Linked DNA regions of Homo sapiens: all the other regions are linked to region 7. Evidence: promoter capture Hi-C in 16 types of primary human blood cells and fetal thymus (Javierre and others, 2016). All regions are on one chromosome and are shown on one strand. Each heading gives the region's core, a stretch centred on a gene start or on the middle of the fragment in contact. The rest is flanking DNA. Distances are from core to core; before and after follow the strand shown. Region 1 overlaps ELF2 (E74 like ETS transcription factor 2). Region 2 overlaps LOC105377448 (a long non-coding RNA gene). Region 3 has its middle 240 kb from the start of NOCT. Region 4 overlaps LOC105377448 (a long non-coding RNA gene). Region 5 overlaps LOC105377448 (a long non-coding RNA gene). Region 6 overlaps LOC105377448 (a long non-coding RNA gene). Region 7 holds the start of SLC7A11 (solute carrier family 7 member 11).

The links. The method cuts DNA at HindIII sites, captures the fragments that hold promoters and counts their contacts. A CHiCAGO score of 5 or more calls a contact.
Region 1: a fragment that was not itself captured here is called in contact with the fragment with the promoter of SLC7A11 in region 7 in 1 of 17 cell types (erythroblasts); the score reaches 5.1 in erythroblasts.
Region 2: a contact is called between a fragment that was not itself captured here and the fragment with the promoter of SLC7A11 in region 7, in 1 of 17 cell types (M2 macrophages). The highest score is 9.5, in M2 macrophages.
Region 3: a fragment that was not itself captured here is called in contact with the fragment with the promoter of SLC7A11 in region 7 in 3 of 17 cell types (M0 macrophages, megakaryocytes and M1 macrophages); the score reaches 6.8 in M0 macrophages.
Region 4: a fragment that was not itself captured here is called in contact with the fragment with the promoter of SLC7A11 in region 7 in 2 of 17 cell types (M1 macrophages and M0 macrophages); the score reaches 6.5 in M1 macrophages.
Region 5: a contact is called between a fragment that was not itself captured here and the fragment with the promoter of SLC7A11 in region 7, in 4 of 17 cell types (M1 macrophages, monocytes, M2 macrophages and 1 more). The highest score is 7.2, in M1 macrophages.
Region 6: a fragment that was not itself captured here is called in contact with the fragment with the promoter of SLC7A11 in region 7 in 3 of 17 cell types (M2 macrophages, megakaryocytes and M1 macrophages); the score reaches 8.1 in M2 macrophages.

The regions. Positions count from the first base shown.
Region 1 is chr4:139,077,236-139,081,362 of GRCh38, forward strand. The region is part of intron 4 of ELF2 (E74 like ETS transcription factor 2); the gene reads right to left. Among named protein-coding and RNA genes, the nearest start is that of NOCT, 64 kb to the left of the region's middle. The HindIII fragment of the contact is 4,123 bases long and covers 1-4,004 here.
Region 2 is chr4:138,921,379-138,925,212 of GRCh38, forward strand. All of the region lies in intron 2 of LOC105377448 (a long non-coding RNA gene), which reads right to left. Among named protein-coding and RNA genes, the nearest start is that of NOCT, 92 kb to the right of the region's middle. The HindIII fragment of the contact is 793 bases long and covers 1,011-1,803 here.
Region 3 is chr4:138,772,672-138,776,786 of GRCh38, forward strand. No RefSeq gene overlaps it. Among named protein-coding and RNA genes, the nearest start is that of NOCT, 240 kb to the right of the region's middle. RefSeq lists an enhancer at 763-907, a cis regulatory region at 827-844 and a silencer at 2,416-2,599. The HindIII fragment of the contact is 2,135 bases long and covers 1,153-3,287 here.
Region 4 is chr4:138,946,089-138,949,779 of GRCh38, forward strand. The region is part of intron 2 of LOC105377448 (a long non-coding RNA gene); the gene reads right to left. Among named protein-coding and RNA genes, the nearest start is that of NOCT, 68 kb to the right of the region's middle. The HindIII fragment of the contact is 2,077 bases long and covers 826-2,902 here.
Region 5 is chr4:138,962,962-138,966,966 of GRCh38, forward strand. All of the region lies in intron 2 of LOC105377448 (a long non-coding RNA gene), which reads right to left. Among named protein-coding and RNA genes, the nearest start is that of NOCT, 51 kb to the right of the region's middle. The HindIII fragment of the contact is 3,484 bases long and covers 175-3,658 here.
Region 6 is chr4:138,864,855-138,868,519 of GRCh38, forward strand. The region is part of intron 2 of LOC105377448 (a long non-coding RNA gene); the gene reads right to left. Among named protein-coding and RNA genes, the nearest start is that of NOCT, 150 kb to the right of the region's middle. RefSeq lists an enhancer at 1,233-1,734. The HindIII fragment of the contact is 9,708 bases long and covers 1-3,665 here.
Region 7 is chr4:138,240,702-138,244,480 of GRCh38, forward strand. SLC7A11 (solute carrier family 7 member 11) reads right to left here and starts at 1,648. Exons shown (of 12, transcript NM_014331.4): 1 at 1,092-1,648. The coding sequence starts at 1,368. RefSeq lists enhancers at 994-2,193, 1,663-1,902. The HindIII fragment of the contact is 788 bases long and covers 1,041-1,828 here.

The sequences.
Region 1 (4,127 bases), core at 693-3,192, 840 kb after region 7:
AATCTAAAAATCCAAAATGCTTTAATGAGCACTTCGAGTGTCACATCAGTGCTCAGTTTCAGATTTTAGAACACTCAATCTACAGTTCAGAGAGCATTAAATGGAAGATATTTCAAAACTAAATAAAAATGTAAAATAAACTTACTTTGTAAGTTACAAGCATGTTAAGAGGAACACTGATTACTTTTTTACTGCTTACTAATTTTATCTCATCATTTTTATTTACTAACTAAAATAATGCAAAATACAAAAATCTAAGAGGCTGTTCTCAGATCAATTTACAATAATGTACTAATGCCAGTTTCCAAAACTTAACACATTTTGTAAAAGTGAGCACTATCTTTTTATTTTTGTTTACATAAGTCAAGTAACTTTTAACAGAAATTTAAGAAATATTTCTCCTACTTGTGTCTGTAATTAAAAAAAAAATACTATTTTGTTCAGATCAATAATTCAAATAAAATTTAAACTATAATTTTGCACATTTAAGAATAAGCATGAATTTAACAGTGTTGTGCAATCAAAGTAAGCAAGCTACAAGCAAGAGCTGAAAAGTAGAATTCCTTATCTTACTTAAAACTTGACTTACTGGTATCTTTCTACATCTATGAAATTTATAGAAGGAAAAATAAATAACTCATTTTAAAAATAGAAACAATGAAGCTAAAAGTAGTCTGACAGGTATCATTTTCTAGTTACCACTGGTAGTGGCTATTGCTGGTCAATCCCCCTTGAAATAAATTTCAAGAACTGTTTTACTTTTTATTACAGTACCAAAAATAATATTTGCTTGTACCTTCATTTAATATTGGTAAATATCTTCTTGTTCCATTTCTATCTTTCTAATCAACCGGTGTTTGTATGGTACTGAAGACTATTCCAGACTCACTCAACAGCTGTTACAAAATACCAAACTTGGTAATTAAGTCTGACAAGAGGCATACCTCTCAGCTTTGCATAAAAGAATGCTGGCAATGGATCTAGTTCATAAAAATGTTCTCAAGTCAAAAATAAAATTTAGTAGCAATTTAGTTTGAGAGCAGTGAAAAAAAATTAGAAAACACTTCATTAGGTGATAGTGGTATTCTCCTATAAGCAACACTATAAACTAATAGTACAAGGTCTTCAGTCAACTGCAGCACCCGATTTACCACTACTTATCCTCTAATGCCCCAAAGCTATACCAGTAATAGGTAAATGAAGAATACAAATGAAGGCAATAAAAAGGGGGAAAAGGTAATTAAAGGTCTGGAATACTCCATCTTCACCTTTTCCCCCTTGACCTTTTAATCAATATACTTGCATTATAAAGTATAAAAAGGAAAAAGAATGGCAATTCTTTTTTTTTTTTTTTTACACTCTCGGAGGGGGAGAGCGAACTGCCCTCTGCAAGATGAGATCAGCCAGAAATTAAGTTTAAATTAATTAAAATTAAAAATTGAGTTTCTTAGCTACATTTTAAGTACTCAGATACATGCGGCTAGTGGCTACCATACAGTACAGACCTAAACAACACTGTAATTCAGCTATCCTCCGACCTTTTTTATCTGAGGACACTTTTACACTCAAAATACTGAAGACCTCGAGATTTTATCTGTATTTATCATATTTGAAATTACAAAGAAAACTTCAAAATTATTAATTCATTTAAAATAATACACCCATTACTGCAACCATAAATAACATTTTTTATGAAAAATAACTGTTTTTTGAGACAAGGTCTCGCTTTGTTGCTCAGGTTGGAATGCAGTGGCATGATCATGGTTCACTGTAGCTTAGATCTCCTGGGGTGTGATCCTCCTACCTCAGCGTCTCAAGTAGATGAGACCACAGGCACGCATCAGCACACCCAGCTAATTTTTTGATTTTTTTTTTTAGAGACGAGGGTCTCACTATGTTGTCCAGGCTGGTCTCAAACTCCCAGACTCAAGAGATCCTCCTGCCTTGGCCTCCCAAAGTGCTGGGATTACAGGCATAAATCACCATGCCTGGCCAAAAATAACTTAAAATAAAAAACAAAAAGTAAGTAGCTTTGTTTTTTACATTTTTGCAAATCTTATTATACTTGATTCAATAGAAGGCAGCTGAATTCTCCTTCCTCTTTCAATCTATTGGAATAACCCATCTATACATAGCTCCTAACTCCTCTGTACACTTTTGAAAGTGACAAGGCAAATAATGTCCCAGTATTATTTTCAAAACAGTTTTGTCTTTACAGATCCTGTGAAAGGCTCTTGGGACTCCCAGAATCCGGGTCAGAGAGTTTGGTTTTTGAGAAGCGCAGCTGTAATTCATCAACTGTAATTAATAACAACCAAATTCTATCCCCATGCTTATATAAGTTTTAGCTTCTAAACATAAACATCAGGGTGTAGATGACAAATTATGATTCTAGCCTAGGAGCTGTGGCTCACACCTATAATCTCAGCACTTTGGGAGGCCAAGGCAGGTGGATCACCTGAGGTCAGGATTTCAAGACCAGCCTGGCCAACATGGTAAAACCCCATTTCTACTAAAAATACAAAAATTAGCCAGGAGTGGTGGCTCACGCCTGTAATCCCAGCTACTTGGGAGGCTGAAGTGGGAGAATCACTTGAACCTGGGAGGCAGAAGTGAGCCAAGATTGTGCCACTGCACTCCAGGCTGGGCGACAGAGGGAGACTCCATCTCAAAAAATAAAATAAATGTAAAAAAAATAAAAATTATGATTCTGTAAGTAAAACAGTATTTGTCTACTCACAGATAAATGGTTTTTAAAAAGCTCTTCTTAAGCATTTCTTTGCATCCTTTTGAACATTTTGCTATAGATGACACAAGGAATCATTTTAAACAATTATCAAACATGAGGAATTATTTTAAATAGTTATCAAGAACATTCTGCTGCCTGCCCTTCTCCACCAACCAAATTTGTTTCTAAAATAGTTTTATGTTGAATGATTCTGATTGGCTATTTACACACTGACTGATGTGACCATGTAACTCAGTTTTTACATGAATTTTAGTACCAATGCTGCAATGAATTGTGAAGGGTAATTTCTTAAATTCATTTTCAAATGAGCTTTTTAAAAAGAAAACTAGTGTCATTCCTTGAGTTTCATTTTAATGTATCTATTCACATACTGCTTTTAACTTCTTTTCATACTGCTAATTTTTTTTCAATTTGATCTTTTCAAGATTGAGACTACATATTCCAATTTATAGTAAATCAGAAATGAGATTTTCAATTTCATAATGAACTTTAATAAAATAGATTTGTTTTCTGTCAGTGAAAATATTTAGGCTAAATTTCCAGAAAAATTTCACCTTCATTTAATAACTGCATTGTTGACCAAAACTTCTGATTACCTTATTTCGCAAATGTAAAAATAAAATAAAATAAGAAAAGACAAATAAAGGAAAAAGTCAAGAAAGGTATACTTGAGAATAAGGCAGAAATCTTCCAGAAAATCCAGACTGTTCATACACAATACTTTAACATAAATATTAGGAAAGTAACAATGCTAGACATTTGTTTTTCCTATATTAAGCTATATACACTAGAAATGAGCCTAAATTATTAATTAGACTATATTACAGACTTAAACATATAAAGAGCCTCAAGTTCCAATTTGGCACACATTTTTATTTTCAAAGACTGGATAAAAGAAGTTAACCTACCAATTACATAACGAACTTATAGACATATTCATTCACATGGTGTAATATTAGAAAAAAAAAAAAAAACCCAAGGAGAAGCCCTACCTTTCCATTAAGTATTTCCAAGCCACTTATTTTAGAGCTTTAAAAGTCATTAGCAATCATCTAGTCAACCCTGTCTTCTTAGAGAAAAATGAAGCCCTAAAGATGTTAAGTCACTAGCTAGTTTAGTGACAGCTAGATATAGATCCTCAACTCTTCAGGGTCAAGGCTCGTTCTCATACATCATATTGTCCATGAAATTTTAAAGTACGTCGAGTCTTTACTACAAACATACTTTGTAAAATGACAGTGAGTTTTAATAAATAAGCTTATTTATTTCATCCTTTACTCAAACTCCTCTGGCAGCATAAATGTTTATAGCTAAAGGAATGCACATGTGATACTTAACACCTCAAAAGGAAGAAAAGCAAAAGTATATTCGAGCTTAA
Region 2 (3,834 bases), core at 157-2,656, 680 kb after region 7:
ATATATATAACACATTAACAATCTATATAATCAAACTAATTATTTGTTATTGGCACTAAAATAGCTGGTGTTATACGTGGCTGTGTGGCACACATGAAGTTTACTTTAGTGGAAGGTGTTCGGGGTAGGAAAGAACCACAATTATTTTTCTTTTCATACAAAGTCATGTAATTAATCATTTCATTTAGAATAATGGTACATTAAAAGTTTAAATTGATAAGTCTAGGTATTTTGAATGTTGCCATAATTTTACAGGTGATAAAAGAGGCTCAAAATGTTCATGATTTGGTCAGGCATGGTGGCTCACACCTGTAATCTCAGTGCTTTGGGAGGCTGAGGTGGGTGGATCACCTGAGGTCAGGAGTTCGAGACCAGCCTGGCCAACATGGCAAAACCCTGTCTATAGTAAAAATACAAAAATTAGCTGGGCATCGTGGCGCGTGCCTGTAATCCCAGCTACTAGGGGGGCTGAGGCAGGAGGATTGCTTGAATCTGAGAGGCATAGGTTGCTGTGAGCCGAGATCGTGCCACTGCACTCCAGCCTGGGCAACAGAGTGAGACTCTGTCTCAAAAAAAAAAAAAAAAAAAAAATAGAAAGAAAGAAAAGTTTATGATTTTTTTTTACAGTTGTGCATTTTAATTTCCTATTTTTCCCCTGTGGATTCACAAAGGAAATCATGCTAGAAAAAAAGATGTCATCTTAAAGCTGAATGGAAGCCTGGCCAACATGGTGAAACCCTGTCTCTACTAAAAATGCAAAAATTAGCCGGGTGTGGTGGTGCACCCCTGTAATCCCAGCTACTCAGGAGGCTGAGGCAGGAGAATTACTTGAACCCGGAGGCAGAGGCTGCAGTGAGCCAAGATCGTGCCACTGTGCTCCAGCCTGGGTGACAGAGCGAGACCCCATCTCGAAAAATAAAAAAATTTAAAAACATTTTTTTTAAAGCTGAATAGATCTTAGTTTCTCTTCAGCAAAAGCTATAAAAATTTGAGAATCTTGAAAGTCCAGAAGCTTGAGTCTATGTTTTTCTCTGTTGTGTCCCCATTTCCTGGTCCAAAATCTGGCATATAGTAGATGCTCAATAGGTCTTTTTGGAAAGAAAGTAATAACAACATGAGGGTTGAGCCAGATAGGCCCTTTCAGGCAGTATCCGCCATGAGACTGATGGGGCTGGGGGAGCATTTAGGAAAGGCATGAAAACCAGGTGCACATCAGAGCACCCAGAGATGGGCATCCTCCCAGAAATTGAAATGTGCAGTGCAAGGACATGCCCATGGAGATGCCCATGGGAAGAATGCCAAGCAGAGGCCAGGAAGGTGCCTGGAGAGACAGGCCATCCGTACCACAGGGAGAGAACACACATAGGACTTCATAGGAGCCCAGACTGATTATTCTGAATTTAATATTTGCTTAAGTTTTGAAATTCATCTTAATCATAAAACCCTAAAATAGAAAGGAAAATCTAAAGGATACATCATCCCGGTGATAAAATCAGCACCAATTCTAACCTTATCATCCAGAATCCAGACATTTAAAAAATAACAGAGCCTAACGTAAAAGGGGACAGACAAGAGAAATCAGAAATTATTCTCTGGACCCAGTGATTCCCTCAAATTGTCCCCCATTTACTTTCCAATATCTGCAATGAGCAAGTGTACACTCTCTAAGTGACCAAAGCAGACACTCGGGTTTGCACTCCCTGATTTTTTGATCGAATTGCTTCCCACAGTGGATGTCCTCACTGATATTACTTTCTATGTTTCTGCTAATAGAATAAGAAATGTACTAATAGTATATAAAGAAGCTTTATTACTAATTTGGAAATTCTTACGACTCTGAATTATAATCTTAGAAAATCACTGCAATTGAAATATTTTAGTCTGGCCATTAAACTTTGGTTAACAAAGATTAATAAGTGCCCTTGTAACACCAGGTAATACAGCCAAAAGGAAAAAAAAAGGTGTGAGTGCAATGATTGAGATATGTGTAGGGGTATTATGGAAGCAGCTAAGAGGAGTCTCTACCCAGTTTAAGGGGTGAGGAGGAAAGAAATGAGGAGAGGAGATTTCCTGGAAGACCCAGTTGAGCCTAAAAGCTTCCTCCCACCCCATGCCAGATCAGCTCTCATTTTCATTTGTATCTGGAAACTAATTGACCATTTTGAAAGGAGTGAATAAGCTCAGGCACAATGGCTCACACCTGTAATCCCAGCACTTTGGGAGGCCGAGGTGGGCAAATCACAAGGTCAGGGGTTTGAGACCAACCTGGCCAATATAGTGAAACGCCGTCTCTACTAAAAATACAAAAAAATTAGCTGGGAGTGGTGGTGGGCGCCTGTAATCCCAGCTACTCGGGAGGCTGAGGCAAGAGAATCGTCTGAACCCAGGAGTCATAGGTTGCAGTGAGCCAAGATTGCATCACTGCACTCCAGTCTGGGTGACAGAGCAGGACTCTGTCTCAAAAAAAAAAAAAAAAAAAGGAGTGAATAAATCTGAATGCTGACTATTGTCTAAACCCAAGGAACGGGGGTTGTCATTGAGACCTTCCAAACACTGCAAAGACTACACCACTGTTATACAACCTATGATCAGAGGTCACATCGAAGCAAATTGAATAATCAAAGTAATCAATTTGAAAAAGATTTTTATTTCTTCAAAGCAATGTAAGAAAAAAGGAGGCGGGCATGGTGGCTCATGCCTGTAATCTCAGCACTTTTGGAGGCAGGAGGATCACTTGAGGCCAGAAGTTCAAGACTAGCCTGGCCAAAATGGCAAAACCCTGTCTCTACTAAAAATACAAAAATTAGCGAGGCATGGTGTGAGCTTGAGAGGCTGGAGCACAAGAATTGCTTGAACCAGGGAGATGGAGGTTGCAGTGAGCCGAGATTACACCACTGCACTCCAGCCTGGGCGACAGAGTGAGACTCTCTCTCAAAACTAAAGGGAAAAAGAAAGAAAATAAAAAGAAAAAAAGGAGATTCTAGCACTTTTGGAGGCCAAGGTAGACAGGTCACTTGAGCCCAGGAGTTCAAGACCAGCCTGGACAACACAGCAAAACCCTTTCTCTACAAAAAATACAAAAATTGGCAGAGTGTGGTGGCATGTGCCAGTAGTCCCAGCTATGCAGGTGGGTTGAGATGGGAGGATCGCCTGAGCCCAGAGAGGTCGAGGTTGCAGTGAGCCACGATCACACCACTCCACTCCAGCCTGGGCAACAGAGTGAGACCCTGTCTCAAAAAAAAAAAAAAAAAGAAAAAAGAAGGAGGTGGGGGAGGAAGAGGAGTAGAAGAGGAAGTAGAAGGGGGAGAATAAGCAAGTCTCCCAGCAGGAAGGACCTGGAAATGTTACCTTATACAGAGAAACTTTCTTTCTATAAATGTATGTGTCCACCATCATCAGAATTTACAGAGGCCCATCATCATAAACCCAAGCACTTTTCATTATTTTTATCAGAGAAATGGAGGGCGCTTACACTGGTAAGTGCTTTAAAATTTCCTGAGCAATGATCCTAAGTGCAAGAAGATGTTATTATGTCCTGTGCCTCCTTCCTCTGACGTTTAAGGCGCTCTTGGGAGAATGGCAAATGTTGGGAATACATTAGAATGATGTGAGGTCAAGGAAAATGGTGGCCAAATGTTGGTAAAGATATCTACAAACGATACCCATGTCATCTCTTCAAAAATACATTTCACTCAGACAGCAGCAAAAGAATTTTTGATGAGTTTGGAGAGAGAGAAGTAACACAATCGTCTGACAATAGCCTAAGCTTTCTTCCCTACCCTCTGTAGGGATCTATTAAGGACACAGGAAATGGAAAGAGCAGCTCAGTGTGTG
Region 3 (4,115 bases), core at 970-3,469, 530 kb after region 7:
ACACATCCATTTCTTAGAGATTTTCAGACTATTTTGGCAAATTTGAGAGGTCTGAACCTTGTTCAGACCAAATGAGAATGGATATACAGAAATGTTGCTTTGTAACTGTTGTTATATTCTCCCGTACCAACATAGAAGTGTCCTGGGAAATATAGTTCACATACCTGTAAGTTAAGTTTCAGTTGGATAGAATCATTACACTTATGAAAAATGATTCCTTCTCAGATGACAAAAGGCCAAGTAATCGCTGTTATTCCTACTAAAATGAAGCTATATCTAGGTTTGAAAAATGTTAACTTTGAAATTTGAAAAATTATTTTAAAAATAGAGTACAAATTATATCATAAACACTCCTCTCTGCCACCCAAAATAAACAAACATTAATATCTTGTTATATATGCTTCAGATCTTTATCTTACAAGAAGTGAAGGATTAAACTCAAAGATACTGTCCCCTAGAGCCCCTTCTCCACTCCCATTCCCACTCCTCCCCTCCATCCCAAGAGCAAATTATGGATGCCATTTTAAAATCCACAACAAGTAATGTAACACATTATTTATAGATGTGAAACTAACTAACTACAAAGCAAAAGTATAAAGACAAGGAATAGATATATGCTAAGGTAATTTTTAAAAATAAGAGATGGAAAGAGAATATTTTACTCTTCTTATAAACACTATAAACTGTTTAGACTTTTTTAATTCATATTTAATTCAAGGAAAAGTAATTAAGGATAATCGAATACTTTAAGAAAAGTATTGCACCGCTATAACCTCACGCTTCCTTTTCAGTTGAGTGTGAGAAAATGATAGAAGAAAGTTGGGAGCTGGGAACCAGAGATAAGATAGGGTTTCTTCCTTCCAGCAATCCTTCCTTTAGAAATTGAAAGAGGAGGAGAGGAGGAGAGACCCACAGTTGATCTCTGAGAAGTGAGTAGCTGGAGGCACCAGGATACCAGCCAAGCCTAAAGGATAAAGCAAATCCCTGGACATGGCTTTTGATTCCAAGCTAAGAAGTGCAAGGTAAGCTACAAAAAGCATTCTAATCAGGGCCTAGATGTGTTTGATTACAATAAATCAACATATCTGTAAAATTTGTGAAAAAGCTACCCAATGTTTTCATAGCCTTTATTTGACTTAAGAGCAATTAGGAAGCTTCATTTAAGTACAGTAATCATTAAATCTATTTAAATAAGGTTTTCAATTGAAAAGCAAAAATAATGTACAAATTGGGGATTATACATCAGGAGCCAGATTCGTAATTAAACAAGGAGATTAAACCTATTCATTTATCTCTGCTTTTTTTCTGAAATTTATCCAATATTAATATTAAAGGAATAAATAAATACATTAACTCTCAAGTTCTCAGAGCATGAACGGGGCTTGACCACTGGCCCTAGACTGGGGAGAGAAAAATGGAAGTCTCGGCCAGGCACAGTGGCTCATACCTGTAATCCCAGCACTTTGGGAGGCCAAGGCAGGCAGATCACTTGAGGTCAGGAGTTCCAGACCAGCCCGGCCAACATGGTGAAACACCCCGTCTACTAAAAATACAAAATTTAGCCAGGTGTGGTGGTATGCACATGTAATTCCAGCTACTCAGGAGGCTGAGCCATGAGAATCGCTTGAACCTGGGAGGTGGAGGTTGCAGTGAGCCGAGATCACACCACTGCACTCCAGCCTGGGCAACAGAGCAAGACTCTGTCTCACACACACACACACAAAAAGTCTCTCAGAAAGCAAATCACAGCAAACAAGACAGCAGACAACAACAAAAGAGAAGAATCCACAAAATTCTGGAAGATGAAAAGGAGGTGGACCCCTGGTAACTGAGTTAGTCAAAGAGAGAAGGCTGGAAACTATCATGCTGGAGGAGAGAGGTAAGAAGACAATAGGAGCCAACTCTTTCACATCATAGAATCCCAGAAAGATACAAGATTTGGAGGTCCTGGGAGCCAAATGAGACTGATAACTAACACCCTCCTTTTTCCTCAGTGGAGTACTATGACATAGACACGGATGCCAGACAACGGAAGATCAAATGTCACCTTTAATCTGGAATCCTACATTGGACACTGGACTAGAAAAACATTTGTGGAAAAAGTAATGAAATTCAAATACGGTTCCATGGATTAGCTAATTGTAATGTATTATGAATCACCTGCTTTCTATCTTTGTTCTGTGGTTATGTAAAAAGTTAACATTAAAGAAAGCTGGGGGAGAACATACAGAAATTCTCTGTATTATTCGTGCAAATTGTAGGTCTAAAATTATTTCAAAATTAAACTTTTTAAGTTAAACATCTCCTTGATTGCTGATAAAGTCGATATTAGAAAGCATAGCTTATTCTGCCTGAATTGGATAAATTTGCTGACTTCAGATTTGGGCAGATTTACCTAATATAACTGCAAGCAATACTGAGCCATTTCAAGTCTTACCACAGAATAGAGCCAGCAGGCTCTAAGCCTACACAGGGCCGAGAGCTAAAGAGAGCACATACTCTGCTTCAGACAGGCGAAACTTCAGTTTAAGATCTTGGGATTTCCTCAAAGAAAGGTGAGCAGAAAGGGCTGAGCTATGCCTGCCCAGTTCCTTCCCAGCTCTCCCCAATTAAGTATGTCACTCCTTGTTGCCTGGGGGGGAGTCAAGACGAGAAAAAAGAATCCAGAAGCATTGTTTTCAACGCAGTGCTCTCAGACTTTTTGGTCTCAAGGCCCTTTTACACTATTAAAAATAATTGGAGACCTCAAAGAGCTTTTGTTCATGCTAGTTATATATTTAAATATCTACTATAAAACTGATACTTTTTAGTATTTATTTATTTAAATACTATTACTAAACCCAGTAGATGTTAACGTGAATAACATATTGTATGAAACATAATAATTTCTTCCAAACCAAAAAGTATAATGAGAAGAGTGTCCTTGTTGTTCATTTTTACAGAGTATCTGTAATGCCTGCCTTAACAGAAGACAGCTGGATTATCACAGCTGCTTCTGCATTCGATCTGTTGTGATATCACATGTCATGTTGCCTCTGGAAAATTCCCCCTGCACACTTACAGGAGAATGAGAGTGAAAAGAGCAAATAATATCTAGTGTTTTTAGAAAAAATATTTTGACCTTCCATCCCTCAGAGATCCCTGGGCCACACTCTGAGAACTGCTGTTCTAATAAACATCTCTCTATGTGCAGAACAGACGAGGTAAATGTTCCCCAACAGAAGGCAGCACGAAGGCTGTAGAAGACAGCGATGAAGTCTAGAAGAAGGGCACCCCTGAGACAGAGAAGCTTTGAAGAAAATCCCTCTATGAAGCAGTGAAACCCTTCCCCCAGTTCCTCTTTCGAGTAGCACTGTCAGGTGACTGTCTCTCTGTGCTGGCAATTTACTGAGAGGCTGAACCCTGACAATCTCCAGATTCAGGGAAGCCGGCAGAGCTGAGGAATACCCTACTAAAACAGGAAACTGGGAGGAATTTAGCACAAGGTTCAATGAGATCCCTCATCCCTCTTGCCTTACTCAGCTCCTAGAATCCTGGCCTCTTCGTTTGTTACCCACGCCCCAACACACACACCCTAAGTGAGAGGTTGAGTAATTCTTCTCTGAGGAAACAGAAACAAGCCAAGAAGGGGGAAAAGAAAAAAACCTATAAATACTGAGAGTTGGGATATCCATCAATGAAACAGCCCCAACCAATTACCCAAAATTAAAGCCCACGTCTTAGCAAGCCTCACCTCTGCACACACAGTTCCAATAGCTGCAGCTGTTGCACTTTTGTGTGCTAATAGACAGTCCAGAATGACTAAAACATACATCCTCAGAAAGCATCCAATGGGGAAAAAAAAACAGACAAAATTATTAAAAAAACCAATGAAAGGACAATGTGGTTTTTTTGTTTGTTTTTTGTTTTTTAAGAAAAAAAAGAACATTCATCAACAACAAAGGGCTTCTTGGATATTAAAAACATAAAAGCCGAAATTTAAAAATTAATTAAAGTTTTGTAAGATAAAGCTGAGGAAGTCTTTCAGAAAGTAGATCAAAGAAAAATGAATAGAAAATAGAAAAAAATAGTACTTAGAAGATCAGAGAATTGATACCAGTTAAACTTGCGACAAA
Region 4 (3,691 bases), core at 614-3,113, 710 kb after region 7:
GTGAAATATTTCATATTCTCTATCAGAAAGTCTCCATTTGTACAATATCTTTTTGAAAACCAGATAGAATTTTAAAAAGGATAAGTGATCTAGGAAACTTTTGTAAGTTTCTTTATCCCAGCCATGTTAAGTTCCTTTTTTTTTTTAACATTCTATATGGTTCAGGATATTCACCTGCAAACAATATAATCTACTTGATTATGATCTAATCAGTGTTATGCACTAAATGTTTGCATCCCCCAAAATTTATATGTTGAAGCCTTAATCCTCAGTGTGTCTGTATTTGGAGATGGGGCCCCAAGGAAGTAATTAGGTTACATGAGGTCATAAGGGTGGGGCCCTGTTCCTATAGGATGAGCACCCTCATAAGAAGAGACAACACTCTTAGATTCTCTCTCTCTCTACACACACGCACACTGAGGAAAGGCCACATGAGGACACAGTGACAAGGCAGCTATCTACAAGCCAGGAAGAGAGTCCTCAGCCAAACAGAATCAGCTGGAACCTTGGTCTGGGACTTCCAGCCTCCAGAACTATGAAAAAATTAATTTATATTGTTTAGGCCACCCAGTCTATAGCATTTTGTTACAGCAGCCCAAGCAGATAAAGACAAGCAATAAGGCATTTATTACTGTTTTTCATTGAAGCTAAGATGTCATTATTTGTTAAGGCACATCATTGTTTTATAATCCATTAAGAAAGATATATTATTGCTAATTAAATTACAATATGTCATGAATTATAAGAAGCATCCCAATTTCAGGAATGTAAAAGTGGGGGAAATGTACATCTTAGAATCGATGGAATAAGGTAAATATACTGGGAAGCTTATAGACTTTTCAGGAAGACCAGGGGAATAGGTTTAGATGCTTCACAGCCAGAAACAAAGCATCCCAGAAAAATGCCCAACCATTCCATGTGACTAGTCCAGCAGAAACAGCATTGTCACCATTGCCATGCCAATCATCACCTGTAACACATCAGAAACTCTGCCACCTGCCCTGGAAGAACTAATGCCTGCAGACTTGCCAAAACAGCCAATCATCAGCACCACTCTAAGTCCCTTTGGTGACTATGAGCATGAAGGAGAAACCCTTTCAATAATTATGCCAGGACAACAGGCATAAACCAGACTGCTCAAGGGAAACCAGACATTTGGTCATGCTTGGTGGAAACTAGAACCCTAGTTACAAAAGAGTCTGGGAAATATTTTTAGCTTTTCTGCTTCTATTATAAAGGAAGACAGGCTAGAAGGGGGTTGCACTAGATGTTAAGTGAGCCTATGTACATGACCTGCTACACATTTGTTAAATATGGGGGCAGAAACAGTGGCCCAATCCTGTAATCCAGCACTTTGGGAAGCTGAGGTGGGAGGATCACTTAAAGCCAGAAGTTCAAGACAAGCCTGGGCAACATAGCAAAACCCTGAGACTACAAAACAAAATACAAAAATTAGCTGGGCATGGTGGCACACGCCTGTAGTCCTAGGTACTTAGGAAGCTAAGGCAGGAGAATCACTTGAGCCCAGAAGTTCAAAGCTGCAGTGAGGTATGATTGCACCACTGCACTCCAGCCTATGTGACAGAACCAGACCCTGACTCTAAAAAATAAATAAATAAATATTGGAGAGCTTATGGATGAATACATTCCAAAAAAACTGAATATTATAACAATTTTGTTATAGTGATATGGTTTGGCTGTGTCCCCACCCAAATTTCATCTTGAATTGTAGCTCCCATAATCCCTACATGATACTGAATAAGTCTCACGAGATCTGATGGTTTTATAAACGGCAGTTCCCTTGCACAACTCTCTTGCCAGCCGCCATGTAAGACATGTCTTTGATCCTCCTTTGCCTTCTGCCATGACTGTGAGGCCTCCCCAGCCATGTGGAATTGTGAGTCCATTAAACTTCTTTTTCTTTATAAATTACCCAGTCTTGGGTATTTCTACATAGCAGTATAAAAATGGACTAATATAGGCCTGGCACGGTAGCTCACGCCTGTCATCCCAGCACTTTGGGAAGCCAAGGCAGGTGGATCACGTAAGGTCAGGAGTTCGAGACCAGCCTGACCAACATGGTGAAACCCCATTTCTACTAAAAAATACAAAAATTAGCTGGGCTATGGTGGTGGGCATCTGTAATCCCAGCTACTCAGGAGGCTGAGGCAGGAGAATCACTTGAACCCAGGAGGCGGATGTTGCAGTGAGCCAAGATTGCACCACTGCACCCCAGCCTGGGCGACAGAGGGAGACCCTGTCTCAAAAAAAAAAAAAAAAAAGAAAGAAAGAAAGAAAAGAAAATTGACTATTACATATAACAAAGAAAGAGCCTCTATGTAAACCAGAAATTGTTTTGAGCTGGCTCTGTTACAAGGGCTCTTACCTCCAGCAGCAGGGCCAGAAAAGCCTCATGAAGACAGCATTTTATCAGGAGTGATTAGCCATTTTGCTCACTCTGAGCTTCAGAATGTTGATGCTAAATTTGTTCCATCCAAGATAAATTTATATTACAATGCCTGAATGTTTTCTTTCAGTTGGAATTTTATGACGATAACAAATGGGTCTGCTCTGTTACGAGAACTATATGCATAGTTATGCATTGACCTGTAAAGGATGTACAGAAGTTTCTGGACTTGATCTCTTGTTTCTTCTCATAGATGCATTGGCCTCTATGGCGAGGAGACTCATTCTGCTTTATGCTCCATCTTACTTTTCAGGACACTCTATTCTACAACACTCTTGTCCCATACTCTTCTCCTCTCTAAGAAGTCTACTTCTTGCTGCAGAGCCCTTTTTCACTGATCACAGAGAGTCTGAGGCCTTTGTTTTGTAAGTGATAACATTTCACAAATATTAAACCTCTGCATGTAATTTTCTCCTTTAAATAACACTCTCTAGAAGCTTCTTACCTCCCAGGAGACATCACTGAGGCTAGGGGCCCCAGAGAAGGACAGAATGGAGATTTGACTTCTTTAGCAAGACTCGGAGCTTGAAAAACAGGGTTAGGCAGTCCCGCATAGTTTCTCAATGGGTCACCACTGGCATTTTAAGTGGGACAATTATTCCTTATGAGGACTGCCATGGGCAGTGCTTCACCTCACTTAATGTCAGTAGCACACTCCAGTTATGGTTGCAATAAACAGCACTCACAATCTTCCCCAAATGCCCCTTAGAGAAATAGTAATTCCCCTATCTGAGCTCTGCTGAGCTGAAGAGATTTCCTAAATGTCTATAGCATCACATAAAACCAAGTCCACAGGACCAGACTCATTTCACAGAGTTCCTCTCAATGTATGAAGAATAAAACCCACTGGGTTAGGATAGCTAGGCCTAGGGTGACAACTTTGTCCCAGTTTGCCCAGGACTGTTCAGTTTTCTTGCTTGTTTTGTTTTGTTTGAGATGGAGTCTTGCTTTGTTGGCCATGCTGGAGTGCAATGCCACAGTCTGGGCTCACTGCAACCTCCACCTCCCAGGTTCAAGCGATTCTCCTGCCTCAGCCTCCTGAGTAGCTGGGACTACAGGCATGTGCCACCACACCCAGCTAATTTTTGTATTTTTAGTAGAGACGGGGTTTCACCATGTTGGCCAGGCTGGTCTCAAACCCCTGACCTCATGATCCGCCCGCCTTGGCCTCCCAAAGTGCTGGAATTATAGGCATGAGCCACCGTGCCCAGCCAGGACTATTCA
Region 5 (4,005 bases), core at 667-3,166, 720 kb after region 7:
TCCTCATCTTCATGTTGAGTAGGCTGAGGAGGAAGAAGAGGGATTGGTCTTGTTGCTCCAGGGGTGCAGAGGCAGAAGAAAATCCACTTATAAGTGGATCCATCAGTTCAAACCTTTGTTGCTCAAAGATCAACTGTACACAGATACATAGCAAGAGATTTATTATGAGGGATAAGCTTACGTGATTATGGAGGCTGAAAAGTCCCGTGATCTACAATCTACAAGCTGGAGGCCCAGGAAAGCCAGTGGTGTAGTTCCAGTCCAGCCCCAAAGGCCCAACAACCAGGAGCACTGATGTCTGAGGGCAGGAGAAGACAGGTGTCCCACCTCAAGCGGATTGCAAATTAGCCCTTCCTCCACCTTTTTGTTCTATTTGGGTTCTCAACAGATTGGATGATGCCCACCCACACTGATGACGGTGATCTTTTTTACTGTGTTTCCTGATTCAAATTCCACTCTCTTCCAGAAGCACCATCACAGAAATACCCAGAAATAACATTAACCAGCTATATGAGCATGCCCTAGCCCAGTCAAGTTGACACATAAAATTAATCGTCACAAGAAGGAAGTGACGGGGAGGGGAGGGGAGGGGAGGGGAGGGGAGGGGAGGGAAGGGAAAGGGTCCTCACTAGTGACGTAGGAATTGTCTAAATATTCCTAATGACCTTTCAACTTGAACTTAGTTCTTGTTTTCACTCATCAGAATCACATCAGGAGGGAGGAAATGATGGGATGGGAGGGAGAAATCTACCTCTGGTGTTTGAAATTTCATAATAACCCATCATACTCTACAACAGACTTCAACCAGCTAGCAATATCTCTACACGTTTTTCTTTTAACACTAAGTTTCCGATAAAAGAAACTTGCATTTAGTTGAGTTCTGCCTATACTCAGATTCCTTTCTCAGGAGCCAGGGTTGAAGGCCCAGCAGGCAACTTTTCCAAGGAGAGAAATAGCAAATGAAGTTAACTGACATTAATGAAAGTAAATATTTTATCAATGAAAAAATAATTCTCCCACCTATGATGAAAACTATTTTTTTTAGACTGATGGATAAAAATTCTAAATCATTTCATATACATTGGCTGCATTCTAATGTCTGCTTATGAAAAACAACAATGCTCGGCGGGGCACAGTGGCTCACGCCTGTAATCCCAGCACTTTGGGAGGCCGAGGCGGGCAGATCACCAGGTCAGGAGATCGAGACCATCCTGGCTAACACAGTGAAACCCCGTCTCTACTAAAAATACAAACAATTAGCCGGGTGCGGTGGTGGGCGCCTGTAGTCCCAGCTACTCGGGAGGCTGAGGCAGGAGAATGGCGTGAACCCGGGAGGCGGAGCTTACAGTGAGCTGAGATCGCGCCACTGCACTCCAGCTTGGGGCCAGAGTGAGACACCATTTCAAAAAAAAAAAAAGAAAAACAACAATGCTCTATACATTATATGAATTACATTTCTCTCTTTTTATAATTAATTTTTTATACAACAAATGTACATTTATTGTCTAAAAATTCTAACAGTACAGAGGTATACAGGGTACAAAAGTCAAAATCTCGGTTCATCTCTCCTCAGGCCCGATAGGGTTGAGACTCACCACAATATACTTTTTTTTTTCTGAAAACATGTCACGTTCATAAGCACATCATACTTTCTATGGGAAGCAATGATTAGCTGTTCACAGTGGACCCCTCCAGACTTTTTCTATATATCTGTATCTATTTACACATATAGGTGCTATAAATCTTTTATGTTTTTATTACATATGTTGGATTGTATTAAACATATTGTTCTGAAACTTGCTTAATATTAAGTCAGAAACATCTTCTGTGTCAATACATCCAGCACTGCCTGACTCTCCTTTGCAGATGTAGAGTTATCACTGAACCATAAGTGTTTGGTAGCTGTTTTTAGTTTTCACAGTTCGGCTATTTTCAGATTTTCTTTAATGCCGACTCTGCTGTAATAAATATCCATGTGCATTATACATATGTTGCTGAATCAATGCGTGTGAGCGTTACTGTTGTATTTTATTTTTATTTTTATTTTTACTTTTATTTTATTTAAACAGCATCTTACTCTGTCACCCAGGCTGGAGTGCAGTAACACAGCTCACTGCAGCCTTGACTTCCCAAGCTCAAGCGATCCTCCCACCTCAGCCTCCTGAATAACTGGGACCTGAATAGGCATACACTACCATGCCAGGCTAATTTTTTCTATTTTTTGTAGAGACGAGGTCTTGCTATGTTGCCCAGACTGGCCTTGAACTCCTGGCCTCAAGCAATCCTCCCACCATGGCCTCCCAAAGCACTGAGATTACAGGCGTGAGCAACCACATCCAGCCTGAGCATTACTGTTTTGAGAGATATTCCCAAAGTGCTCTCCACAAAGGGTTACAACAACGAACACTTCCATCAGCTGAATGTGAGATTATATTTTTACTTTATTTTGGAGAATGAAGGTAGCATATTATTATTGTATTTATTCGTATTTCCCTAGTTGTGAGATTAAATAATTTTCAGATGTTTCTCAGCCATTTATATTTCTTTTTCTGTAAATTGCCTTAAGTTTGCCCTTTTCTTTTGACTTACTTTTTCTTGCAATTTGAATCCCTTTAAATATTATGGTTCTCATATGGTTCTGTGAAAACACTTCCTCTCTCTGCTATTTGACACGTAGCTTTAATTATGCATCATTCATTAAATGGAAGTTTTTAAAATAGTTATGAGGACAGATCTGTCCATCTTTTCTTCATGGTTTTTGTGGTTTCAGACTTTTTTGAAAGGCCATCTTTACCCCCAAGTTCGTTTAAAAAATAAAAAAAAACAGGCCGGGCACGATGGCTCACGCCTGTAATCCCAGCACTTTGGGAGGCAGAGGCGGGCGGATCACCTGAGGTCGGGAGTTCAAGACCAGCCTGACCAACATGGAGAAACCCAGCTCTACCAAAAATACAAAATTAGCCAGGCGTGTTGGCGCGTGCCTGTAATCCCAGCTCAGCTACTCGGGAGGCTGAGGAAGGAGAATCGCTTGAACCTGGGAGGCGGAGGTTGCGGTGAGCCAAGATCGCGCCATTGCACTCCAGCCTGGGCAACAAGAGTGAAACTCCATCTCAAAAAACAAACAAACGAAACAAAACAAACAAAAAAACAAACAAACAAAAACACTTCTCCTATACTACCTTCTAGTGCCTTCATGGAAAGTTTTTAACGTTTGAAATTTTTTTTTTTTTTTTTTGGAGACAGAGTCTCGTTCTGTCACCCAGGCTAGAGTGTGGTGGCGTGACCTCAGCTCACTGCAACCTCTGCCTCCCGGGTTCAAGCGATTCTCCTGCCTCAGCCTCCCAAGTAGCTGAGATTACAGGTGTCTGCTGCCACACTTGGCTAATTTTTTTGTATTTTTAGTAAAGATGGGGTTTCACCACATTGGCCAGTCTGGTCTTGAACCCCTGACCTCAGGTGATCTGCCCGTCTCAGCCTCCCAAAGTACTGGGATTACAGAATATTTGAATTTCTAATTCATTTGGAATATGCTTCTGAAAACAATATGAAACAAAAATCCCTAACATGATGATGGTGGAATCCCTGTCCTGCTCCCATCTTCAATAGAAATCTTCTGATGTTTCATCATTATATCTACAGTGGCTTCTGCCCTTATCAAAGCTTGTTAATAGTTTCTTTTCAAATAAAGAATGTACGTTGAATTCTATTGAGTGCTTTTTCAACATCTAATGAGATCATCATTTGAGCTCTTTCAATTTATTAACATGTGAATTGCATTATTGGATTTCCTAATGTCCAAATTTTATTGTTTCTCTAAAAGTTATATTTCTCAATTTTTCGATGTGTCTCAAATTTCTGATACGAAAGAAATGATATTTTTCAGTATGAACCATCTTCTAAAAAGCAAAAACGAAATGACATTTTTATTCTGCATTATTTAGGAAGATTTAAAAATGAAAATCTAATTATTCTGCTTTTTCAATATCCAAAGCCATGTAAGTAACA
Region 6 (3,665 bases), core at 294-2,793, 620 kb after region 7:
GTTATCTTCCTCTTAAAGACTGAACATCAGACTTGTCAAAAAATGTTCCTTATTGATCTGACAGAGACAGAATATTGAAGTTAGAGAGATATTTGCTGAACTATCTCCCTTGTCTCGGGGAAAAGCTGAAATGCTGTTGTTGACCCTGACCATGAAGATTAGAATAGAGGTTGTGTGAAAACAGAGGTAGTGCTGAGTAGAGGCACCACCTCCAGCCTCGGAATATAAGCCTTGTGATTGATAGAGGCAGGAACCCAAGCACTCGGTGAGGGCGATGTGGGGGTGGGGGACGCGGTTGGCAGCTTGGCTCCTCTCCACACCAACCGGATTAGTGACAACATCACAGGAGTTCAGTGGCTGCTCTGGTTCTGTTTGCATTGTTTCCTTCTATGCTGTTAGGCAGAAGCACAAATACACCTTGTGAGAAAACCTAATATCAGTGACAGGAAGGAATGTTACTTTTAAAGGACTCCTTGCTCAGCCATGAGGCTCCATGCAGAGCCTCCTTCCAGACAGCCCTGATCCTCCTGGGCTTTTTCCCAAGGGGCAAAAAGCCACATTCTATAGACTGCACGACCTTGGGTTACTTGGTGGGCATCTGAGTATGTCTCCTTCCTCAGAGCGCTCAAAGTTCAGTTACAGTTCTATCTACAGGAAAGAAAAGGTAGAGAAAAGCCTTTCTGTGGTTTCTTTTTTTCCACATTAATGGTATCCTTTATACTCAGTGGTTTTTTGAAATGATAAAGAGAAGGAGGAAGGAAGGAAAGAGGGAAGGAAGGAAGGAAGGAAGGAAGGAAGGGAGGGAGGGAGGGAAGAGGACGCTTTTAAAGTCAAGAAAGTGATCAAGAGCATGCTGATGTGGCACTGACGCACAGCACCTGTGGGCATGGAGCAGCGAGAGCAGGGGTTGTAATCACAGAGGGGTCACGCCGCAGCACCTGGGGAGTGAGGGAGGATTCACTATCAGAATTGCCTGAGCAACTTCCCCAAAATACTATCCTCCTCCTCCTCCCCACTAAGATTCTGAGGTTGATTTACAGCGGACAGTGTGGAAGGATGTCCGAATGTGTCGAGTGGAAAAGGCAATATGCAGAAGAGTACTTTCAGGAAGATCCCATTTCTGTAAATAATACTGTCATAATTATATCTTATTCGTGCACGTCATTATAGTCCTAGAATAATGTGAAAGAATACACAGCAGATGTAAGCAGTGGTTTTCTCTAAAGGATGACATGATGATGGGCTTTCACTCTTAAATTATACATATTGGAATCTTTCACATTATTAATCGTTATGTTTCTCCCCCATCTAGTCTCACCAGACCCCTTTATAGTTACCCTGGCATGAACCACAGACCACAGAACAAGAAAAATGTTGCAAATACTCAATTTTTAAGAAAAAAAAATTTGTTTTTGCCCTAAATCTAGGGCAGGAAGATTCTGCCATACACTGACAGAGCAGAGGTTTAGGTAGAACCCCCATGTCTATAGAGAAGAAATGGAGGAGGCATATTACAGGGGCAGGAGTGGGTGACAAGGAGCAGCTATGATCCCCCACAGAAGAGAAAGTCCAGCAGGCCCCAGGGAGCTGCAGCAAGCTGAGAGGGGCTGAGGTGTTGCCGCTTTGCCCCAAGGTGAGGACCACCCATCACCAAGGGTTGTTGTCACCCGGTGGTGTCCCCTGTGGAGTGGCACTGATCTGCTTCCCCAAGTCTACCCAGCACAGCCCTGTGCCTGCCTCCCAACCACCCTCCAGTGGAAAACTCCCAGTCTCCAGTCCAGCAACACCAGACACTCATGAGCTGCCACCTTGGCCCTAATCAGGTGAGACACAAGCACTAGAGAGTGACTTCAGGGTGAAATCGAGCCTTGCGCTGGGCCAGGATGGGAACAAAGGGAACAAGTTTGGAGCAGCTGAGCAGGACGGCGGTGGGACACATTGCCTTTGATGTATGCACATTTTAGAATGCGTCATGTGTTGCTGCATGCATGTGCTGTTTTTGTGATGAAAAACCTGATTTGAGGGAACCCAATTTGACTCAACATTCACTATTTATCAAGTATAACCTCCACATTGACTCTTAAGACCTCCCCTCCCTCAACTTTCTGTCAGACCAAGTCAGCGTCTAATTAATCTCTGAGGACACCTTTCCATCTTCTATAGGCACACAGGCACCACACACCACACAATACACACCACACACACAGCACAGCATGCATACACCACACACACACCACACAATACACACCACACACACAGCACAGCATACATACACCACACACATATACCCACATACTACATTGCACACCATCTATCCTCCACACAACACACTGTACATCACACAACATGTACACAAACACACACACACCACACTATATTCCACACACCACACACATCACACACTATACACTACACACCACACACACTATACACCACACCCGCATACACACTATACTCCATATACCATACACACCACACACACACTCCGACACAGTATCACCATACACCATGCACACACATACACACACACCACACACCACACTATACTTCACACAACATGCACACACACACACACACCCCAACACACCACACATACCGTACTATACTCTATACACCACATGCACACCACACACAATATATTCCACACAATGCACATAAACCACACACCATGCAACACACACACCACACACACCACAGTATACACGACACACCACACACAGACCACACTATACACCCCCCCACACACACACCACTCGACACCACACATCACACTGTATACTCCACACACTGTGCACACACACACTATATACCCACCACACACGTGCCCGCCCCATGCAGCCCCTTCTCCTTTCCAGTTGCACTCCCAAGGCCTCTGCCTGGAATGCCACCCTCGGCCTCTCATTCTTTAGCTATTAAGTGAAGCTGACTGAATTTCCCTTTGACTTTAGACACAACCGCCTCGGGTTGCAGTCACTTGCCTGTCATTATCTGCCCTCATACAACTTGCATAGGGAACGTCTCCACAGCATGGTTAGTTCCACTGCACAATCACAGCACACAATTTGCCACTGTCCCTAATCTCTGACACAGCATCCGAAATTAACTGCTCTCCTACTACAGATGACCACTCACTAATCCTCCCAGGATCTGCAGCACTGTTTCCAGAAAGTACGTTTTCAAGCTGGAAAGGGTTTTTCCATCCTTCTTGACAGTAGTTGTAATAAGAATCCATTATCATATTAGCAGAGAATGGCGATGCTAAGAAGTGACATTTGCACAAAATTTGATAGTTGACAGAGATCTTGTCCCATTTGGTGTTCACTCATAGAATGTCATTCAGTCCTCAAAAAACGGGACATTAGAATGAGACTCTTTCACCTCCATTTCTACTGATGAGCCCAAAACAATTAATGATATAAAAGTGATTGGGACAGACCTCCCTTATGCAGATTTACAGAGATAACCCCCCAATCCCTTCCACAATTCTTGGTATCTGCATTTGGATAAGGATAGGAAAAGAGGGCAGAGAGAAGAGAGAATTTTGGTGAGTTTTGGTGAGACTCTTATCATTGGAGAGAGCTATGCTGCTGTAAGTCTTGTCAGTACCCAGAAAACCTCCCTGGGGAGTAGGGTGGTGTGGTCCCCCAGACCAGTAAGGGGACTTC
Region 7 (3,779 bases), core at 398-2,897:
CTAGAGTTAGCGTTAGTACTTGTTAGTTAGTGTTAGTCCCAGAGTTAAGACAAAGAGCAACTTTAAAGTACAGAATCTTTCCCAAGAAGAGTAAATAAATCCTCATAGCATAAATCAAATTTAATGTTTGACAGTTCACCAGTTTTTATCATCTTTACAACAAACTCAGGTAGCTCTCTAGTAATTTGCCTACTCCATAAGGGGGCATTTATTTACCTCTTTACTATTAATTCTCAGATCAATAGAAGAGACATAAACTTTGAAGAAAAATTCATAATTATACTTCTGCCAGTTCCCTTCAGATTAATTTAGTGAACAGGTGGACAAATTCTCTGTGTCCCTGGAGAACAAGTGAAATATAATGAAAAAAACAGATCTGGGCAAGTACAGAAAACTAACGCCCAACTGAAGTTTTAAAACTTATATTGCAAAAGTGTATGGGTATTGAGAAGAGATGAAAGGTTGAAAAGTAATTTGAAATATGCTCAGGCCATTGCAATATACCCCATTATGATAGGGATTGAGTTATGCGCCATCATACATCTCTCCCATGTCAAGGACTTTTGAAAGGATATTAAGAGGTGACAAGCACATGAACTTAAAAAATATTTTTATAAAGACTGCCACCCATTTGTTTGGCTAATAAAAAGTCAGTAAGACTTCTGCTGAACACTCCGTTCTATGTCTAAATAGCCCATGCCAGGTTCCACTTCACAGGTGTCTCATTCAGCATGCCAGCTGCCAGAATGCCCAAGCTAAGTGTACAACTGCCCGGCACAGAAAGTGTGCATGTTTTTTACTGGGTCATGAAAGTTAGCCTTTGCTCTCATCACCACAGAGAAAAGTCAGAAGATAGCCTGTCTTAGTCAGGAAAAGAAAGTACAGCCTGTAGGAAGCAATTTGAGGGTGTTCCAGATCACACCAACAGCGGATGCTGCATCTGGGTAGTTCACGTACCCGAACAAAAATTTTAAAAATTTGGTGTGGCCTTTGCCATCCATTCACTCCTCAAAAACTACCATTTGCTTTCCCAGAAAGCAAGCTTTCCAGCCCCACAGCCACGCCCCCACGAGAGAAAAAGTCGCACTCACCAAATAGTGACAGGACCCCACACACCGTCCAGATGGTCAGAGACATGCCCACGCTGCCCGTGTTCTGGAGCACGCCCTTAGGAGAGATGAAGATTCCTGCTCCAATGATGGTGCCAATGATAATGGAGACTCCCCTCAGTAAAGTGACTTTCCTCTTCAGCTGCACTTTCTCCTGCCCAGGTGGCTCCTTGTTGCCCAGGGAAGGCAGCCTCCCGTTAACATTTCCCTGCAGGTAACCTCCTTTGGAGATGGTGGACACAACAGGCTTTCTGACCATAGTAGGGACACACGGGGGAAAAATAAAACAGAGGGAAAGAAAACAAAACTTTCAACTTTGGTGTCTCTTGGTGTTACTGATCGATGTCTTCCTCTGCTTTCAGACTGTCTCTCTCAGCGCTATAGTGTTCACAGGTGAAAACTCAAAGGTGTGCTTTTTCCTTCACAGCGATCTAATTACTACTCAGAAACACCTGTGTATGCATCGTGCTCTCAATTCTCCACCTCCTCGTTCCACCACTGCTGCTGCTGCTGCTGCTGCCGCCCTATCATTACAAACCAGCTCAGCTTCCTCATGGGCTTGTATTTAAGCGCCTGCCTGTCACACCAACTTACTACAGCTAAATGATGATGCAAATTCTCCAGGTTTGCATCAGCCACATGAGAAGCCTCCAGCATTACTCAGCTCTTTTTTTTAAAAAAAGAAAAAAACAGGAGGAGCTTGTTGCTCAACTGACCTAAGCTTTTTAGAGAACAAAGCACACACTTTAAAGAGATTTTAGCCAATCCAGAAGTAGTAAATTCGGAACAGACCTTCCCAGAGATTTAAAGCAACTCGTAGTGAGCAACAAAAGCTGTTCAAACAAAATGAAACAGGAAATAGTTACTTCATTTTAAGGAGTTTCTTTTTCTTTAATGCGTGTATAAAAACATTTTACATGCGACTGTTTTGTGAGTAGAATGTATCCTAAAGCTACATTGTTTATAACAACACAGTTTGAATTTCATAATTTGTGTAATGCTTTTTATTTTTTTATTTTGAGTTTTTTATAAGGCAATACAGTCAAATCCAATATTTACAAAATTAAAGATTCTACACTTTATACTTCTGTCACATACACACAACTATAAGCCTTCCTCAACATTAAAAGATAAAATTATTTCTTACTACTCATAATAAACCAGTATTTTAAATCACCATCCGAGTGTGACTAATACAAAATTCACCATGACTCCAGAAAATAGTCATTTTCTGATTCTCATTAGCACTAGGTGATTTTTTTGAACTATGTAAAAGATACATATCCTTCATTGTCATGTTGTTCCTTTGAATTACCAAAAAAAATTTCTAAGTTCAAAATTACACAATTACAATTACATAAAAATATGTATATAGCAAAAGCCTGTAAAGGAAAACAGAATGGTAGTTATAGAAAGTAATGATATTATGTATGACTTTTTTCCACATTATATAAACTATTGTTATTATTATAAATTTAAAATGCATTAAAAATGTAAGCTAAATTAAAATATTTACTTTGCAATAGTCAAAAAGGCAAAACATTTTTAAACCCTTCTAACTTTCTCAACCAAGTGTCAAGAAAAAACAAATATGAAAAGAAAAGAAATCCTAGATATCATTTTTGGCTATAGTTACATGTGGTTTTGGATTCAGTGAGAAGAATTGAATGTTATCATTACCCTGAAGCTACCTTTATACGCACCATTAAATAAGCTTCTGAACCTTTGAACAAAAACCACAAACAAAAAGCCTGTGTGCGAGAGGTTGGCAGGGAAAGAAGGGAGTCAAGTATGGTGAGGATGATCAAAGAAAGAAATGAGAAATCGCCATTAGGAAAGTAGCATGGAAAAGGTCAGAACCATTTTCTGTTATGTTGACACCTGAGAAAATGACACCACCTCAATGCTTTGCCATCCAAATAATTGAGGCTACATTTTCTCCTTTTTAAATTATCTATCTAAATTCTATATAATTGGTTTCAGCTACACCAAGTTAAAGTTTTTATAAAACCAAAATAAATACTTTTTCTCAGTTGTTAATGTCTTTCAAAAAACAAAAATGGATCATTTTCCTCATGCAATCCTGCTAAAACTCCCAAAGAAGGAAGCTAAATAGAGATTCTTTTCTTTCCAATTCTCTTCCTCCTCCTACATCTCCTTTCACTCACACAATTTTCCTGATTAATGGACCTAAGGAGCAGCTCTTCTTTCCCAGTAAGAGAAACATATTAGCTCTGAAGAAATATGAGGTAAAAGTAGGACACTAGGAATCTCAGGGAACAGCAACTTTCTCTAATTAACACAGTGTCACACTTTAATTTTAAATTTTGTTATAAATAACTGAACTCATAAGTTGAGCCAAAGACCCCACTCAGATAGGAAACTGAATGAATTATAAAGGACGATTATTCTTTCAATATTAAATAACATTTTCCTCCTCACAGTATTTTTTTTTTAATTATGAAGAAAAATGGCTGATGTTAGACTAAAAACCAAAAGGATTGTACTTTCATGTAAGATAGAGGCCACCACTCAGAATGTTTGCAAAGCTGCACATTGCTGCTAAGGGCACCAGTGTACCTCTTCTAAGCACCCCAAAATCTGTAGAAAATGCAGTTTATAAAGAAAATGTTGAATTGCCTTGAACTCTTAAAATTGCCAGTTCTAAGC